Regions from separate parts of the Homo sapiens genome. Here all the other regions are linked to region 1. Evidence: promoter capture Hi-C in 16 types of primary human blood cells and fetal thymus (Javierre and others, 2016). All regions are on one chromosome and are shown on one strand. Each heading gives the region's core, a stretch centred on a gene start or on the middle of the fragment in contact. The rest is flanking DNA. Distances are from core to core; before and after follow the strand shown. Region 1 holds the start of ACTMAP (actin maturation protease). Region 2 holds the start of ERF (ETS2 repressor factor). Region 3 holds the start of PAF1 (PAF1 component of Paf1/RNA polymerase II complex). Region 4 holds the start of RPS19 (ribosomal protein S19). Region 5 holds the start of ARHGEF1 (Rho guanine nucleotide exchange factor 1). Region 6 holds the start of SAMD4B (sterile alpha motif domain containing 4B).

Evidence for each region. The method cuts DNA at HindIII sites, captures the fragments that hold promoters and counts their contacts. A CHiCAGO score of 5 or more calls a contact.
Region 2: a contact is called between the fragment with the promoter of ERF here and the fragment with the promoter of ACTMAP in region 1, in 2 of 17 cell types (fetal thymus and total CD8 T cells). The highest score is 6.2, in fetal thymus.
Region 3: the fragment with the promoter of PAF1 here is called in contact with the fragment with the promoter of ACTMAP in region 1 in 1 of 17 cell types (fetal thymus); the score reaches 5.8 in fetal thymus.
Region 4: a contact is called between the fragment with the promoter of RPS19 here and the fragment with the promoter of ACTMAP in region 1, in 3 of 17 cell types (naive CD4 T cells, total B cells and naive CD8 T cells). The highest score is 6.6, in naive CD4 T cells.
Region 5: a contact is called between the fragment with the promoter of ARHGEF1 here and the fragment with the promoter of ACTMAP in region 1, in 1 of 17 cell types (naive CD4 T cells). The highest score is 5.1, in naive CD4 T cells.
Region 6: a contact is called between the fragment with the promoter of SAMD4B here and the fragment with the promoter of ACTMAP in region 1, in 1 of 17 cell types (naive CD4 T cells). The highest score is 5.4, in naive CD4 T cells.

The regions. Positions count from the first base shown.
Region 1 is chr19:40,749,227-40,751,726 of GRCh38, reverse strand. ACTMAP (actin maturation protease) reads left to right here and starts at 1,250. Exons shown (of 6, transcript NM_198476.5): 1 at 1,250-2,246. The coding sequence starts at 1,924. It overlaps SNRPA (small nuclear ribonucleoprotein polypeptide A), which reads right to left and starts at 524. Exons shown (of 6, transcript NM_004596.5): 1 at 246-524. The coding sequence starts at 318. RefSeq lists enhancers at 1-545, 633-702, 1,243-1,482, 1,174-1,799 and silencers at 456-638, 903-1,042. The HindIII fragment of the contact is 2,474 bases long and covers 856-2,500 here.
Region 2 is chr19:42,253,703-42,256,402 of GRCh38, reverse strand. It overlaps ERF (ETS2 repressor factor), which reads left to right and starts at 1,275. Exons shown (of 4, transcript NM_006494.4): 1 at 1,275-1,425. The coding sequence starts at 1,404. RefSeq lists enhancers at 47-578, 1,219-1,718 and silencers at 1,074-1,473, 1,484-2,173, 2,254-2,323, 2,414-2,533, 2,554-2,603 and 1 more. The HindIII fragment of the contact is 3,576 bases long and covers 1-2,700 here.
Region 3 is chr19:39,389,685-39,392,384 of GRCh38, reverse strand. It overlaps PAF1 (PAF1 component of Paf1/RNA polymerase II complex), which reads left to right and starts at 1,279. Exons shown (of 14, transcript NM_019088.4): 1 at 1,279-1,567; 2 at 2,096-2,125; 3 at 2,224-2,316; 4 at 2,624-2,700. The coding sequence starts at 1,521. MED29 (mediator complex subunit 29) reads right to left here and starts at 1,007. Exons shown (of 4, transcript NM_017592.4): 1 at 747-1,007. The coding sequence starts at 962. It also overlaps a transcript of SAMD4B not described here. RefSeq lists an enhancer at 663-952 and a silencer at 2,490-2,621. The HindIII fragment of the contact is 958 bases long and covers 943-1,900 here.
Region 4 is chr19:41,858,885-41,861,584 of GRCh38, reverse strand. It overlaps RPS19 (ribosomal protein S19), which reads right to left and starts at 1,330. Exons shown (of 6, transcript NM_001022.4): 1 at 1,296-1,330; 2 at 740-810; 3 at 373-473. The coding sequence starts at 810. RefSeq lists silencers at 1,009-1,128, 1,189-1,318 and an enhancer at 872-1,627. The HindIII fragment of the contact is 18,374 bases long and covers 1-2,700 here.
Region 5 is chr19:41,881,934-41,884,633 of GRCh38, reverse strand. ARHGEF1 (Rho guanine nucleotide exchange factor 1) reads right to left here and starts at 1,450. Exons shown (of 29, transcript NM_004706.4): 1 at 1,345-1,450. RefSeq lists an enhancer at 166-375 and silencers at 242-391, 1,256-1,765. The HindIII fragment of the contact is 8,882 bases long and covers 1-2,700 here.
Region 6 is chr19:39,341,013-39,343,712 of GRCh38, reverse strand. It overlaps SAMD4B (sterile alpha motif domain containing 4B), which reads right to left and starts at 1,292. Exons shown (of 14, transcript NM_001384574.2): 1 at 1,137-1,292. RefSeq lists a silencer at 1,174-1,603. The HindIII fragment of the contact is 6,593 bases long and covers 920-2,700 here.

The DNA of each region.
Region 1 (2,500 bases), core at 1-2,500:
GCTTCCTGGAGGAAGGGTCCTGTGACCTCAAACCTTGTAAGATGAGCAGCAGTGACCACGTTAAAGGGCAGAGTGTAAGATGAACTAATGGAGTGTTGAAGACAGGAAGTAGTTTGTGTAAAGGCCAAGGAGTTAACTCGAAGTTTGGCTGGACAAACACTTAGAAAGAGAGGCGGGTGCAGGGGACGGAAGAGGGGCCAGCCCGTGCGGGACAGTCTGGACTCCGGACTATCCCGAGAACTCACCATCCTTCTTGATCTTCTCATTGAGGTTGTTGATATAAATAGTGTGGTTAGGGCGGGTCTCGGGAACTGCCATGGAGTGAAGTGTTGAGGTAAGTCTTAAAGGAGGAAAAACGTGACTTTAGCCCTGGGTTTCTCCAAATCCTTTGTCCCAACGTCGGCTGCTCAAGGATCTTCCTCCGAAAAGGAAGTCAGGTAAGGCGGGAGTAGGGGCAAGGACGGAGGCAAAGCGCGACAACAAAGCGTGCGTAGGACCCGCTTCTCCAGCCCGCGTGCGGAGAGAACTCTCGAGAGATTTACTACGACTTCCAGGATGCTCTACGCGACCCGGTGGGCGGAGCACCCTAAATGGCGATTCCCATTGGCCCAAGCATCCGAAGGGCCGTCCCGGAGAAAAAACCCGGATGTGGGAGCCAGTATAGAAAAAAGGGACAGGTCCTAGGCAGCCTGGCCTCGAGCAGCAAGTTTCCTCAGACGGGCCCAGGAAGGCCCGGACGCCAAGCGTACCGCTCGCCTGCCGCCGATGGTCGTTTGCACCGGAGGTTACCTTCCGACAGGGCCGTAGTTCTCTCAACCGGCGCCTGCTACTTCCCTGAGACCAAACCACAAAGCTTTCTCTCCTGGCCCCGCCTCTGCCTTTCTGCCAGCCAATCGCCGCGCGGAAACGCAGTAGCTTGACCAATCAGAGCAAGTCTCGTTTCTGGGCTCAGCTGTTGCCAATCAAAACGATATTTGGGTTCCCGCCTAGGTAGAAAAACCCCGCCCCACTCCCTGAAAGCCCACCTCCTTCCGTGGCGCCCGGGTCTACGGACCAATCAGTGAAGGTCACGAGTCTGTACGCGTCTCGCGCTGCGGTGTCTTCCGGAGGCAATCCTTTTTGGAGTCCCGCCTCTTACCCCCGCCAGAGCTGCGTTTTCTGTCACGTGATCGCAAAATGGGCGGGAACTGTTGCGTGTAATACCACGTGATATGGGAAAGGCAGTGTGCGGGGGCCGCCATTTTCCGGGAGTGGGAGGTGCACTTTACTTCCTGACTCCTTTCCTTTTTCCAGTGGTTATCGCGGCGCCCACCGGCCTCTGATCTCTGAGTCTTCTCCAACCCACAGACGTTTTTTGTTGCTCTGGTTCCAGGACCTTCTCCACAACTAGGCCATTTTCCCTGCCAGGTGTCCTTTTTGACCTCTTGACCTCTGACTCAAAGGTCAGCTCAAAGGTTCCGAACTCGGGCCTGGGATGTGAGGGGGTACTGAACCTAAGTTCTCCGAATCTTTAGCCCTGGGTCCCTAAGTCGCATCCTTAAGGCACCTCACTCTAGATCTGAGCCTTCATATCCCAAACTCACTCATGAGTTTCCACATCCAGCCCCAAAGAATGAGTTAACTCCTACTAACTCTCCACCTAAGACTCCCGAGGTAACCCAACCGGTACCACAGATCCGGTTCCGGATTTAAGGACCCCACCCTGTTAACCGTCAGGTGCCTTATGACTTGAGTCAGCCTCGCAATTCCTGCTCCCGTGGTTTCAAATATTAGCCCTGGTCCTTTCACACCCACTGCTCAGTCCCCAGATTCTGGAACTCAGCTCTTAAACCTTTAAAATCTCCATCCCTGAGACCGTTCTCCGTTGGAGGATCCTTCCCTCCCCGCTTTCTGAACCTCTCAACACCTCCTGTAGACCCCAAAATGACTTCTCCATGCTCTCCTCCCCTAAAACCACCAATTTCTCCTCCAAAAACCCCTGTACCCCAAGCCAGCAGCATTCCATCTCCTCCTCTACCCCCAAGTCCCCTGGACTTTTCAGCTTTACCATCCCCTCCCTGGAGTCAGCAGACCCCTGTTCCCCCACCGCTCCCACTGCCTCCTCCACCCGCTGCCACAGGGCCTGCTCCCCGTCATGTCTTCGGCCTGGAGAAGAGCCAGCTCCTGAAGGAGGCCTTTGATAAGGCCGGCCCGGTCCCCAAGGGCAGAGAAGATGTGAAGAGGCTTCTGAAACTACACAAGGACCGGTAGGGTCTCCATGCCCCACCCACCACCCAGGCTCTGCCCTAGACACTTCACAGATCTCTTGGGGTGGGGGGGGGGTTCCCGTGTCCTCAAGATCAAACAGGCTGACTACTTAGGTCCCCCACCTAGATCTCTTCCATGGTGGTGTGCCTCCAGCAATGAAGAAAGCTGTCCTCACAAGTGCCCAGTCCAGTCCGGGTGCTTTGGCTCATGCATGTAATCCCAGCACTTTGGGAGGCCGAGGCGGGTGGATCAC
Region 2 (2,700 bases), core at 26-2,525, 1.5 Mb before region 1:
GCCTGTCTAAGGTGGACTAGGTACCCCGCAAGCGAGGAGGCTGGGATTGAAGCCCTGGGTACCGGGAGCCTGAGCTCCGCAGGCCTTCCCTATCTGTGACTTTTCTGTCTCCCCGCCCATCTTCTGGATTCGTCCCCCACCCAGCCCCCCCAACTCCCGCCCGCCACCCATACGCCCCTCCTTCGGAACCTCAGAGTCTTTTTTGAGACTCTGTTTCCAGGCTATGCCTGTGAATATTGCTTCTATTTGGCCTCTACCCTGCTGCCGGCTCCTGGGCTCCATCAGATCTGCGCTGTGATTTCCTGTTTCCCAGAGCCTCAGGCTTCATCCTTCCCTCCCGGCTGAGGCAGAGAACGGAGACTTAACACTTCTCTACGCTCTGGCTTTCGATCTTAAGCCCTGTCTTCCTCTCTCCTGGCGACCCTCAGTGCCCCTTGGGAGCACATTTGTTCAGACTTTGGTCGCCCCCTCGTATCCCGGCCCCGCCTCCGGAACCCCCGGTCCTAGTAGTGGACGTGGGGGGACCTCCGGCGCCAGCCCTATCCCCGGGACAGCTGCAGCCTGGGGACGGTGGTGGTGGGGGCTTCCAAATGCATTCTCTCTGGTCACTTCCTCCCCAGCTGGACGGGGGTTATCAGGGAAGCCAAGACCCCATCCCCACAGGAGCGGAGGGCACAGCCGCCTCCCCATTTCCGATGCTGGGAAATGCATCCCACCCATTCCACCCCACCCCTGGACAGCTGCCCCCATTCAGGCTCAGGGTTGGGGGGTTGGGTAAAACCAAGCTGGGAAATGCTGTGGTCTTCATCATCTTCTAAGGTCCTGACCCCGCCCCTCTGCAGAGAAGATTCTGCCCCCTCCCCACAAAAGTTTCTGACCCCCGCTTCCTCGGAAGGGCCCCCCGTTTTCCCATACAGGCTCCCAAAAGAAACTCTGGAGCCCGCAGTGGGCAGGAGAGGAGGAGGGGCAGCAGGTAGCGAGTGCCGAAGACTTAAGTTAGCTGCAGACTCGGAGCCTCTGACTAGGGTCATGACCCGCGGGACCCCATCCCACCCCCACCCCCTCCTTCCTCCCTCCCCCGCCGCGCGGCCCCTTTAAGCCCAGAGCCGGCCGGTCCTCAGTGGCTGCGCGCCGACGAGCGTGTGTGTGAGTGCGCGGGGAGGGGGCGGGCGCAGTGTCTCCATGGCGACGCGGCGGTGACGTCGCCGGCCGGGGGGCGTGGGCGTCCCGGCCCCGGAGTGCGATATTAACCCGGGAGGCGGCGGCGGGGAGGGGAGAGGCTCTGAGAGGCGAGGCCGGGTGAGGCGGCGAGGGCGGCCCGACGGGCGCGGGACGGGACGGGGCAGCGAGGGCGCCGGGAGCCGCGGCCCGGAATCGGGGCGCTTCGCCCCGGGCCCCCCAGCATGAAGACCCCGGCGGACACAGGTGGGGGCGGGGGCAGCACGTGTGGGGGAGACTTGTTGCCCCGGGAAACCGAACGGAGAAACTTTGGGGGGGCTGAAGGGGTCCGGGGGAGCCCGAGTGATCCCCAGTTCTGGGGGACCCCTCAAGCACTGGAGACCTGTTGCTTCTCGTGGCGCGAGCGGGGTTGCTGCCTGGGACCCCCGATTCCTGGCTCCGGGCGGAGTGGTGTGGGTGCTGCGGGTCTTGGTCCTGTATCCCTACCGGGACCCCGCAGGCCGGGCTCTCCCCCACTCCCGGGATCACGGGGGTGGCGGGGTCCTTCCCCTCCGCTCTTGTCACGTTGCACTCTGGGGGCCGGGACGTGTGCGGGGCGGGGGGGCTCGTCCACCGGGCCCGCTATCCCTGGTTCTGCGCTGCGCGGTCCTGCTGGTGACCTTCACGGCGGCGCGTGCCCTGCACCAGGTTAGCGGGGGATACGGGATGGCCTCTAGGAGGAGGGCGTGAGTGGGGAGCCCGGGACTCGGGGTCCTGGCTGCGCCGCCCCTCCCCCGCCCGCCTCTGTCGGCTCCTCGCTCCCCCGCCCTCGCCGAGTCGCAAAGTTCCAAAGCGCAGCCCGAACGTTCGAAAAAGGAACTTTTTGTTTCCGACCTTAGAACGCGCGGCTTTAAGGTGGCTCCGGGGAGACCTGGGTACCCTCCTCCCGCGCCACCGGTGGCCCGGGGTTGAGGAGGGTGGGGAAGGTGGGGGGAGACGCAGAGGCTCCCCCCTCGCCCCCCCTCCCGGATCCACCTCTTCTCTTTCAGCGGGCCGTCTCTTCCCTCCGCCCCTCTCTTCCCCGCCAACTTGCTCCTCCTTAAGGGGCCAAGGTTCCCCTCCCCCTCGGTCGGCGGGCGGGGGGCAGCGGGATTAACTCCCCCTCCCACTCGGACTTTTCCCCCTCCCCTCCCCCGCCGCCCCCGGGCTCGCGCGGGCTGGACTTTGCGCCCGAGCGCGCAGGGGGAGGGGTCCCAGCCGCCCCCTGCCCGTCTACCCCGTCGGAATCCGGCCCGGGGCGGGGACGGGGGAGGGGGAAGGGGGCCGGGCGCCGCTGTTCAAACTTGTTTCCTTCCCCCGGCGGCGGCGGCGGCGGCGGCGGCGGCTCGGGCTCCTGTGTGCGGGTGTGTGCCCCGACCGGCCCACCCACCCCACCCCATCCCCACCCCATTCCCACCCCATTCCCATCCCCATCCCCCTGCTCGGCGGGTGGGGGCGGCTTAATCTTAAAGGGCTCCGAGCTGGGATCCGGCGCCAGGGGAT
Region 3 (2,700 bases), core at 30-2,529, 1.4 Mb after region 1:
AGATCACTCAGTCTCAGGTTTTCTTTTCAACTGGCACCTTCCCTCCTGACTTTCCAAAGTAATATTCGTTTCCATTCCTATAGCTGTCACCACTCCATCCTCCCAGAGGCCCGCTCTCACCTGAGCTTCTCGCCAATAACCTAAGGGTCCTCCCTCACCTATCAATCAAGGGCAGAATCTCCGTATAAGCCAGTACTCTCCTCAGGCTTTAACGACCAGAGCCCAGTTTCTCCTTTAAACAACCCCTCACTCAAGCTCCGGCCAGTCCCAGCCTCAGCATCAGCGCTGATCCCATCTCTGCCGAGCTTCGCTTAGGTCTCGCAGAAAACAACAGTTTTATTTATTTATTTATTTATTTTTTTGACGGAGTCTCGCTCTGTTGCCCAGGCTGGAGTGCAATGGCACGATGTCGGCTCACTGCAACCTCCGCCTCCTGGGTTCAAGCGATTCTCCTGCCTCAGCTTCCCGAGTAGCTGTAATTACAGGCGCGCGCCACCATGCCCGGCTAATTTTTGTATTTTTAGTAGAGACGAGGTTTCACCAGGCTGGTCTTGAACTCCTGACCTCAAGTGATCCGCCCGCCTCGGCCTCCCAAAGTGCTGGGAACACAGGCGTGCACCAGCCAGGCCAAAACAGCAGGTTCTATTCCTCTTTCTGCTTAGCGCTCTCTCCGACTAACCTGGCCCTCGGCCTGCCCCTCTAGACTACCAAATCCAGTTTGCTTCTCGCTGCTTAAGGCCAATCACCTGTAGACTCTCCTTCAGCTGCGGGATGAGCATCTTATAACGCTGCACAGGATCGAAGTCCTGTTGCTGTTGCTGCAGGAGGCCGCTCTGGGCAGGGCCCACCAGTTGTGCTGGCGGTTGCGGCTGCTGCTGGGGACCCGGGCCGCCAGCCGAACTAGGACCCGATACACCAGCAGCTGAGGAAGCCGCTGAAGCTTGCTGCTGGGATGCAGCCATCTTCCTCGCGTAGACCGCCGGAAGTGCGTTACGACTGCGTCTCTCCCCGTTGCTTTTCAGCATCCCTATTTCTAGTCCCCGTTTGCTAGTTAGTCCCGCCCCCTAGGCAATTAAGCCAATGGAGGGGAAGGAGGTGCCCCAACGTTACGTCACTCTCAAATCTGCGTCCAGACTGAGATATCTCTCCACCAATCACAGAAGCACCTCTCTCCCTCGCTCCGCCCTTCACCCAGACGCTCGCCAATCCGTGTGTGGTTCCGAGCCGGACTTCATTTCCCCGAAGGCGTCGCGGCCTGAGGAGACCCGTTGGGTCCTCAGCGTCTTGGCGGCAGTTGGTGGAACCGGAGCTTCGAGTCCGTCCCCGGTGCTGCCTGCGCGTTCACCTGAGTCTCGCTGGAGCTCTTCTCGCCCGCCCACCTCATCTCAACCCACTTTCCGCGGGGAGCGGCGCCAAGCTGGGCCTTCCTCGGATCAGGCGTCCCCTGAAGTCGGCACGCCCCTCTGCGTCCCCCTTCGGTCCCGCTAGGACCCCGTCCGGGCTGCCGTCGCCTCGTCGCTATGGCGCCCACCATCCAGACCCAGGCCCAGCGGGAGGATGGCCACAGGTAGGCGCCACGCTTTTCTGTTGCAGCAAGGCGGGGGATCGGGAGAGGGTTTCTGCTGAACAACGTCACCAGCCCCCAGGTCTGCCCGTGACGTCATGAAGCGCTCACCTTTGACGAAGGGGGCGGGTTCCTTCTGAGATTCAGGTGTTCCCCTCCTCCCCGCCGTGCAGTTCAGGGATTAGGCTTTTGGAGACTCCCTCCAGAAGGGATCCCTCCAGTCAACCGTTTGGAGACCCCTCTTCCGAAGACGATTGAGTACATGGTTCTTTATTAAAGCACTTGAAGCCATCTCCTGCAAAAGGGATTGAGCACTTGGCCTTGTTCATTAAAGCTTTTGGGGGCATTTCTTCCTAAATAAATTGAACATTTGTCTCCTTCCATTAAAGCATTTGGACACTCCCCACACCACCACCCAAAGAAACCAGCATTTGTCACCCCTCCTACCTTTTGAAAGGTTGGGGAAGCCTTTTTCATTCTCCTGTCAATCCCGTCCTCTCCACCTATCACTGTTTCTTTCTTCTCCACTAGGCCCAATTCCCACCGGACTCTGCCTGAGAGGTGAGCCCCACTGTGCTTTCCCAGGAGCGGTGGGGCAGTGGGGCTGGGAGCAGAGGTGGGGCAGCGGGGGCCCACTTTTGAGCCACTAATGTTCCTAGGTCTGGAGTGGTCTGCCGAGTCAAGTACTGCAATAGCCTCCCTGATATCCCCTTCGACCCCAAGTTCATCACCTACCCCTTCGACCAGAACAGGTGAGACTAAGGAATGGGAAAACTACTCAGGTATGAGTTCCTTGAAGGCAGGGACTGCTTGTCTCGTTGGCTGCTGTCTGCTCAGGGCCTAGCACAGTACCTACCCTAGCACATAGTAGTAGCTGCTCAATTGTTAATGGAGCAAGCAGTGTCCAAGTCCCTTCCCACTGGGGAGCCAGCTTTCAGACTCTGCCATGGGGGACACTTCATTCTGAGTTCCTCCCCAGAGAAGCTCCGCCTCTGGGAAGCAGGGCTGTGAGGGGTGAAGCTGGAATCCAAACACCACAATAGGTGTTTCCCCACCCAGGTTCGTCCAGTACAAAGCCACTTCCTTGGAGAAACAGCACAAACATGACCTCCTGACTGAGCCAGACCTGGGGGTCA
Region 4 (2,700 bases), core at 81-2,580, 1.1 Mb before region 1:
GCACAGGCAGGTTAACCAACTTGCCAGAGGACACACAGCCAGATGTAAAAGATGGATCCAAACCCAGGGAGTCTGCCTCCGTGTATATAGAAAGGATTAAACCACCTGTAAGCAAAATATGAACATTCATCTGTCTCTGGTTTCCCCTGAGGCTCAAAGCCACAGGTCCTCCTCTCACAAAGCTCTTAGAATGTCATAAAAACTTGGAGTACCAAGTTATCGAATGTCACATCACACAAAGCAAGTGGTGACACAACCAAGGGTTTCTCTCCCTCTTGGGGCGGGAAAGAGCTCAGAGGAGACAGGGAAGTATGGTTTGTGCCAGGGGTCACCCAGCTCCCCACTCTCCAGCCAAAGACCTAAGTTCCTCACCAGCTCGCGTGTAGAACCAGTTCTCATCGTAGGGAGCAAGCTCTTTGTGCTTGGCCAGCTTGACGGTATCCACCCATTCGGGGACTTTCAGCTTCCCGGACCTAAGACCAAAACAGTGGGAAAAGCACGATTCAGTCATCTCCACAAACTACCCCATATCCCAAATGCCCTCCCCTCAACACAACTATGCTGTGCCCAGAGTACAAAGAGAGGCTGGAACCGGAACACAAGCCAGGCCTCACGCTGAAAGGAGCCACGGAGGCCCCAAACAAGCCTCGCCTGCCAGGGACCGGCAAACACTGGGGCTCAGATGGGCAGGCCAAGGCGACAGCCTCCACCCGTTTTGAACCTCAGTCCCCAAACTCACTTTTTGAGGAAGGCTGCCAGAGCTCTGACGAACTCCTGCTGGTTCACGTCTTTTACAGTAACTCCAGGCATCTGAGGGAGAAAGTCAAGCATGTGAACACAGGCCTGGCAGAGACGACTGCCAAGAGCACGGACCCCACCCCAATCCTTTCGCTCCAGCGCATCCTAAACCGTGGTACCCCCCGTTACTTCCCACGGCCCCTTCAACGCCGGGCTCCGGCTCCTGCGGGTCTGAAGGAGCTCACCGACGCCCACGGCCTCTCTGGATCGCACTAACAGAGCCCGGCCCCTGCGTGTGAGGATCCTGCGCGACCCCACTCCCCAGCCCCGGGACTCCGGACGCCCCACGCACCCCGCCGCTGCCCCCCGGGGCCCACGCTCGGTTCCCGGACGGCGCTGACCGGGCATGTCCGGGCCTGCCGCTCGCACGTGGCCGCGGCTCTAGGGGGCGGGACGGGCCCGCGCCGGGCGCCTCGGGGCCCTCAGGCACGCGCTCTGAGGCTTCGGCGTCCGGCCCTGCCGCCTCGCGCCCGGTCCAGCTCGGAGCCCCCGCTTACCGTGCGGCCTCCGCGCTGCCAGCCAGGGGAAAGGGAACGACGGGGTTTCCCGGGCGCACAAGTCGGGCGTAGGGTCTCGCGAGAGTTCCGAAAGCTCGCGAGAGCGAGGGTAGACGCTGAGGCTCCGCCTCTCTCAGGGCGAAAGTTCGTCCCCGCCTAGAGGGGAGGGTGTCTAGTGAGGGGTGGAGAGGTAAAGGGGAGGGCCAAGGGGTCGCGCGTGGAGGCCTGGGTTTCCTCCCGCGTTTCCTTCTCCCGGAGTGTAATAGAGAGAGGATAGAGAGCTCCTGTTCGGAGCTGGGGGAACTTGGCTTCGTTTGCGTCGTTCGTGGCTGGAAGGAACAGTGGTGGAGAATACTATGATGGCGAAAGTACGGGGCAGGATGGGTGGGCCACAGCTGGCGCCCCACGGCGGAACAACCCCTTTTCCGGGTGGAAGTGGCTGTTCCCTGGCCGGAAGTGGGAGTAGTAAGGGCGGAACTGTGACAGGGAACCTAGGGGAAGGGCGAGGAAGAAATGTGGCTATCATCTTCCGTCCTTCACCGCCAGGAGTCGCGAGAGCGGGAGACGGAAGCCCCACCCTTCTCAGGGCGGAAGTTGCTTCAGCACGGCCGGGGCGAGCGAAAAGGGAATGAGGCGCTGGAGGAGGGGAGAAGATAAGGGCGGGACAAAGCGGCAGAGGCGGGACCTTAGCAGAAGTTAGTTCAGCTCTGCCTTCTAGTGTCGGAGTCTGTTCGCTCAGCCCTTACTTTGCCAATTTAGATTTACCTGCCCCGCTGACCTGTGTAGCTTTAGGCAGTCCATTTGCCTTCTCAGGGCTTGTCTCACCATTAAAAAAAAAAAAAAAAAATGAGATCCCCGTTTGTCCATTTAAAGTGGCTCCTCTGGTTCATGGCGCGTCACATGCTCTAAAAAATATTTTTTGAGTGCCTGCTCTGTGCCAGGCACAGGTAAATATTATTTGGACATTTATCATGTGGCTGTTACTGTAGTGTTACATGCATGATCTCATTTAATCCTTACAAGGCCCAACAACTAAATAACGTGGTCCAATAAAATTATGTTAACTTGTTGCAAAAAGGAAACACTGAAATGTGTGTAGCTATTTTCTTATGTTGGAAAGACTGAGAATTTAAAACATAAGAGCAAATATTAGAATTTTACCCCACACTGATACTGTGGCTGCAAAATGTGTTAATTATTAATAAGCCAAGACTCGTATCTGTTAGAAAAATTAAAACCAACCATGCTTCTAGCATAAGATCATATATTTAAATCAAGGTTTTACATTCATGTAGAATGTTGTTGAAACCTATCTCATACTGTTTCTAAAACTTGAGAAAATATTTTCATTATCTCAATTGTTTTTCCAGAACCAACACATACATATTTCCATATGTATTCAAAG
Region 5 (2,700 bases), core at 201-2,700, 1.1 Mb before region 1:
GACCCAAATCTTACATGGACGTGGCGGGTCTTACGCGGGCCCTAAATCCTACGGGGGACGTGGCAGTGTGCACGGCCAGGGATGCCGGGGAGGACGTGCAGAGTCAGGGTCTGACACCCGCTGGGGACCGCGTCCCTCACCTGCTCCAGGTGGAAAGAGAAGCCATCGCCGCCACCGGAACCGAAGCCTCCGCGCTCGGGCTCCGCACTCTCCCCACCCCTGCCGCCGCGTCGCTCTAGCCGCCCTGAGTCCACCTTTGCGCCCAGCTCCACTCCTCCTGCCAGCCGCTCTAGCCCGGCTCCTGCCGGGCTCCGGCCCCGACGACTCTACTCCTCCCGCCGGCCGCTCTAGCGCTGTACTGCGCCACGCAGGCCAGATAGGGCCGCTCTGGCCTGTCTTGGAGGGCCAGCGTTTCCGTATCTCGACTGCCCCCGTCACTCCCCGGGCCCCGCCCCGCGCCCGGAGGTGCAGATGGGTCCAACTCCTCCCGAGTTCGATCGGAGATCTCCTAGTCACCCCAGCGCTGAGCACTCGGACGGCGGACTGGGGCTCCCCGTCCTATTAGTCTCCCCACTTAGGGGACCCGCTGAATTTCCAATCCTCGTACATCAATCCCCTCCGTCTCCCACCCCCAGCCCCTTCCTTTGGAACCGGAAAAGCAATAGTCTTGAGTTCCAGCACAACTTTCCCTCTGACATGCAGTGTAATCTGCAAAAAGTAATGACTTCTCTGTAGACCTCAGTCTTCCCATCCGTACAATGGGAGAAGGCCTCCAGCTCTCTCCCTACACCTGTCTCTCACGGTATAATTAATGACCTAGAAAAGAGCTTTCCGAAAACTCTTTCAAATGCACTCTGCAACTTTCAGCTTCACAGCGACCCTCGTCGTTGTTGTTATTGTTGTTTTTCATTTTTAGGTGGCCCTAAAGCATGCGGGGGTTGGAGGATGGCGCTTTGCGGAAAGCACGTGCGAGTTCAAATCCCAACTCCACACTTTCTCACGATGTGCGTTCCCTGGGACGAGTCGGTTTGGCTCCCCGGGCCTCGGTTTCCCCACCCGTACAATGGTAGTGATCGTCCGTTCTCCACTGAGCAGGTGGGAGGCCTTGGCCCCGGCCTCGCACCGTTCGTCCCCACCTATGGGGCACTCGTCAAGTGTGAGTTCTCCCCTCTTTGCTCCCTTTGACAGATGGGAAAACTGAGGCCCAAGGAGGGGCGGCCGCTGGTTCCGTGGGGTCCGAAGGGGGCCCCTCCGCTGCCGGCAGCGCCCCAGCCCCTCCCTCCTCCTCCCCACTTCCCCCAACAGCCGAGGGGAGGAGGCCGGGCGGGGCCGGGGACCGAGTACCTGGTGTCCGCGCGGAGGTGACCGGCGGGGCGCCCGAGGTCGGGCTCGGCGATCCCGGGCCCTGGGTCCCGGCTCCCGCTTCCTGGCTCTGGCGGGGCAGGAAGTCGGGGCGTTTTTCCGGAGGCCCCCGCCCCGCCGCCCCTCCCCGCTTCCTGCCCGCGCCCCGCGCCCGCCCGGCACCTCCGCTTCCTTCCCCTTCTCGCCGCTTGCCCGCCCCTCCTTTCCCCGCTGCGCCCGGGTCCCTGCGGGCACCGGCCCCCGCCCCGGCCGCGCCCGAGCTCTCCCCGGCTTTGTCCATCGGTCCGTCCGCCGGGCGCGGGCTCCGCGGGACTCGCATCTCCCGGCTGGGGTCACCTCCCCGGAGGTGCTGGGGGGCAAGCCCTGCTCCCCGTGCGCCCTAGACCGAGCCACGACCTCCCCGGCTTTCCGCGTCTGTGGTTCTCATGGTCTTGCGCCCTTCCTTCGCCTCTGTGGGTGTGCTCCCGCCTGCGTCTGCATCCCCTTCTCTGTCCCTCTGTCTTTCTCTACTGGGGTCTTTCCCTCCTTGGCCTCCACCTCTCCTCTCTGTCCCTCCATCACTTTCTCCCCGAAAGCCCTTCTCTACCCTCTCCAGCTCTCTCTGTATCTTTCTGCATCTCCGTCTCAGTCTCTGTCATTTCCCCAGCTGTTGCTGTGCCTGGGCCTCTTCGTGCCCATTTTCGGTTGCCCCTTCTCCCTTCTGTCTCTTCCTTTCCTTCTCGCTCTCTCTCTGTCCCTTTCTCTCCACGTCCCTGTCTCTCTCCCGGATTCCCAGGGTCTCATCATCTCTTCCTTCCCTTGCTCGTCCCCTTCATGATCCCTGGGTCTCAGCCTCTCTCCTCTCCCTTTCTCAGGAAATCCGTGTCTCTGTGCCTCTCTGTCATTGCCCCGGGATCTCCCTGCTATCCCCAGGTTAGGACCACAGACCCTCCAAAATGCCCCTTCTGTAAGTCAACGCATCGGGAAAAGGCTGCAGTCTGAATTCTGTACTAGCCCCAATCCACAAGATAGTCCCTGTGTTTCCAAGGCTTAAATACGCATAAAGTGGCTCATGCCTGTAATCCCAGCACTTTGGGAGGCCGAAGCATGGTGGATCACTTGAGGTCAGGAGTTCGAGACCAGCCCGGCCAACATGGCGAAACCCTGTCTCTACTAAAACAAAAATTAGCTGGGTGTGGTAGCACATGCCTGTCATCCCAGCTACTCGGGAGCCTGAGGTACAAGAATCGCTTGAGGTGGAGGTTGAAGTGGGCTGAGATTGCGCCACTGCACTCCAGCCTGGGCGACAGAGTCAGACTCTGCCTCAAAAAAAAAAAAAAAAAAAAAAAAAGCGGCCGG
Region 6 (2,700 bases), core at 43-2,542, 1.4 Mb after region 1:
GCTGAGAGTCCTCTGGAGATTTCAGGCAATTGCTGGAGATTTTTAGAATGAGTGGGGGTGGGGAAGGGGATCCCGGTGAAGATCACTGGGCTACATGAGGGTGATCTCTAGGGCATTTTAGGGTGGTGAGACCAGGGGGAGACAGGAGGCCTCTGGGGGAGACTTTTGGGATCTGTGGAAAGGTCCAGAGGGATACGTGAAGGGGGAGTGTGTATGAGAGATGGTTGCAATACGGTGGGGAGGGGGATGGAGTCTTCTAGGTGAGTTTTTGGGATCTGGGGGCATTTCACAAAGTCTGTGAGGAAGATTTATTTTGGGGATATGGGAAGGAGATCTTCAGGGAAGATGATCACGGTCCGTCGGGGGCATTCTGAAGGACTTCTGGGAGGGGGAATCAGAAATGCAGGGGGTATGAGCGGAAAATCTCCAAGGAGGTTTCTGGAATGGGGTAAGTGGGAGGGAAAATTCTTAGGATCCGGGAGGGGGAAGTCGGGTGAGCCTGTTGGGCTGTGAGAGGCAGGGCTCCGGGGGAGAGTTCTGGAATGGACAGGGGTCCGGAGGGAGCCTTGGGGAGGTGTGCAGGGCTCGTGAGGGAGGCTCCTGGAGCAGCTATGAGAGCCACGCTGTGGAATGGACGAGGAGTGGCCTCCGAGGACTATTTCTGGAGACAGGAGGAGGACGGGGGCTTCGGGGCCAAAGGGCGGGGGTCTGCGAGGAAAGCTGCTGGGACCCATGAAGGGCTCGAGGAGGCGACTCCACGGGAGGGGTGGGTTTTGCGGGGACCTTTCAGGGCGCACACGGGGGATCGGCAGGCTTTCCGGGGCTCTCCGAGGGGGATGTGCGGGGGGTCCTGAGGAGAGGCCCCCGGCCCGGCCCCTCGGCAATCCCGAGGGCATGAGAAAGATTTCGGAGGGAAGCTTCGGCCAGGGCCCAGGAGGGAGACTGGGGACGGGCGCGGGGCTTCTCCCGTGGGGCCCGGCCCCCCGAGGCCCGCGTTCCGCACCCGCCCGCCGCCGCCGCCCGCGGTTCGGGGTCCCTGAGGGGGCGGGGCCGCCCGCGCGGCCTGGGTCGCCCTGAGGGGAGCCCCGCGCGCCCCGACTCGCCGCCGCCCCGCGCCGGCCCGGCCCGAGACTCACCGCCTCGGCCTTCGCCGCCACCGCCGCCGCTCGGGCCTCCTCAGGCCACCGCCGCCGCCGTCGCCCCCTCTCGGGCCCGCAAGCTCCCCTCCCTCCTCCCGCACCGACCACCGCCGCCGCCGCCGCCGCCGCCGTCGCGCTGCGTCACCGCGCCGTGCGTCACCGCCCCTGGCCCCGCCCCGACGGGGGCCGCCGCGCGCCGGCATTAGCTCACGCCCGGGTGACGAACGGCGCGCCAGCCAACGGGCGGCGAGGGCAGCCCGAAGGGCGGGAGGTGTGAGCCGAGTAAGGCGGGGTCGCGGCGAGGGGGGAGCGACGGTGGTGGAACGGGGCCCAAGAGGCCCGCCCCCTCCTCGGCGGGATTGGTCGGACGTGGGGGTGACGGGCAGTCGGCCAGGCCTGGGGTTTGGGGCTGGGGGGCGGGGAAGGGGCGGGGCGCGCGGGGCGTTGCCCAGGGCAACGGGCCCGGCGGAGTCTGAGGTTGGGCCTCCAGGCCCGCAGGGGGCAGGCTCGCGCGCGTCCACCCCAGCTGCCCCGAGCGAAGTCACAGTTCCTGATTCAGGCGTTCCAGGCCTCCTCTTCCCCGCCCCTTGGGTGGCCCGCCTCACCCAAGGCTGTCCTCAGTGGGCGTCTGCACTCGGGCTTCTGGGCGCTCGGCTTTCTCATCGCGCTGTTCTCAGCCTTGCCGCTTGCTCTCTCCGATGGGAATGGCGAGGCGAGATCTAGCCTTTAGGGTGGGAAGAGAATGCACAGAAAGCGCTAAGGATCAAGGAGGCTGTCAATAAACGGGAGTTGTTGCTGTGACTTTGGTTGTGATCTGTGCGTTCCACAAACTGTATTGGGTCCGGGTGAACTAATCAGAGGGACCTGTGTTCAGAAGGCTCTCGGTGACAGAGATCTGGCTTGTTACAGGCACTTAGAGAGGCAGTCGGGATGGAGGGTCGAGTTGAAGACAGGGAGGGGTGAGGAACGAGCAGAGGCCAGTTGTTTGGCCACTTGAGGGAGTTTGGACTTGTCCCGAGGGCACTAGGGAGCCGTGAAGGGCTTCAAGCCGGGGAGGATCATGGTGAGTCTGGGGTTTTGGAGAGATGTCTCTCTGGCTTATACATGGAGGGCGGATTGGAGGGAATGAAACGGGATCGGGAGTCCAGGGAGGCAGCTGGGGGAGGGGGTGGGGAAGAAAGAGGGGGTTTGCACGAGGGAGGGACTGTGGGGAGGGAAGGAGGTGCAGGTGGGAGGGACGCCCTGGAGGCAGAGCGAACGGGCCCTGACACTGGCTGGCTATGGAGTGGAAGGGGGAGAAAAGTTTAGGACCAGGCCCCTCTAGCCGGGAGACTGGGCGCCAGAAGCAGGTTGGGAAGATACTAAGCCCAATGTGGATGCCTAGTAGCGAGGTCCAGGAGGTGCACAAACCCTGGGTCTGGAGCTTAAGGGAGAAATTGAGGCTGGAGACCAAGATTTAAGGATCGTCAAAGATGGTAATTGAGGCTGTGGGAGTTAGGGGTCTAGCCCGGGGAGGGTATGAAGGGTCACTGGAGACAGGGACTGAACAGAACCCTGAAAC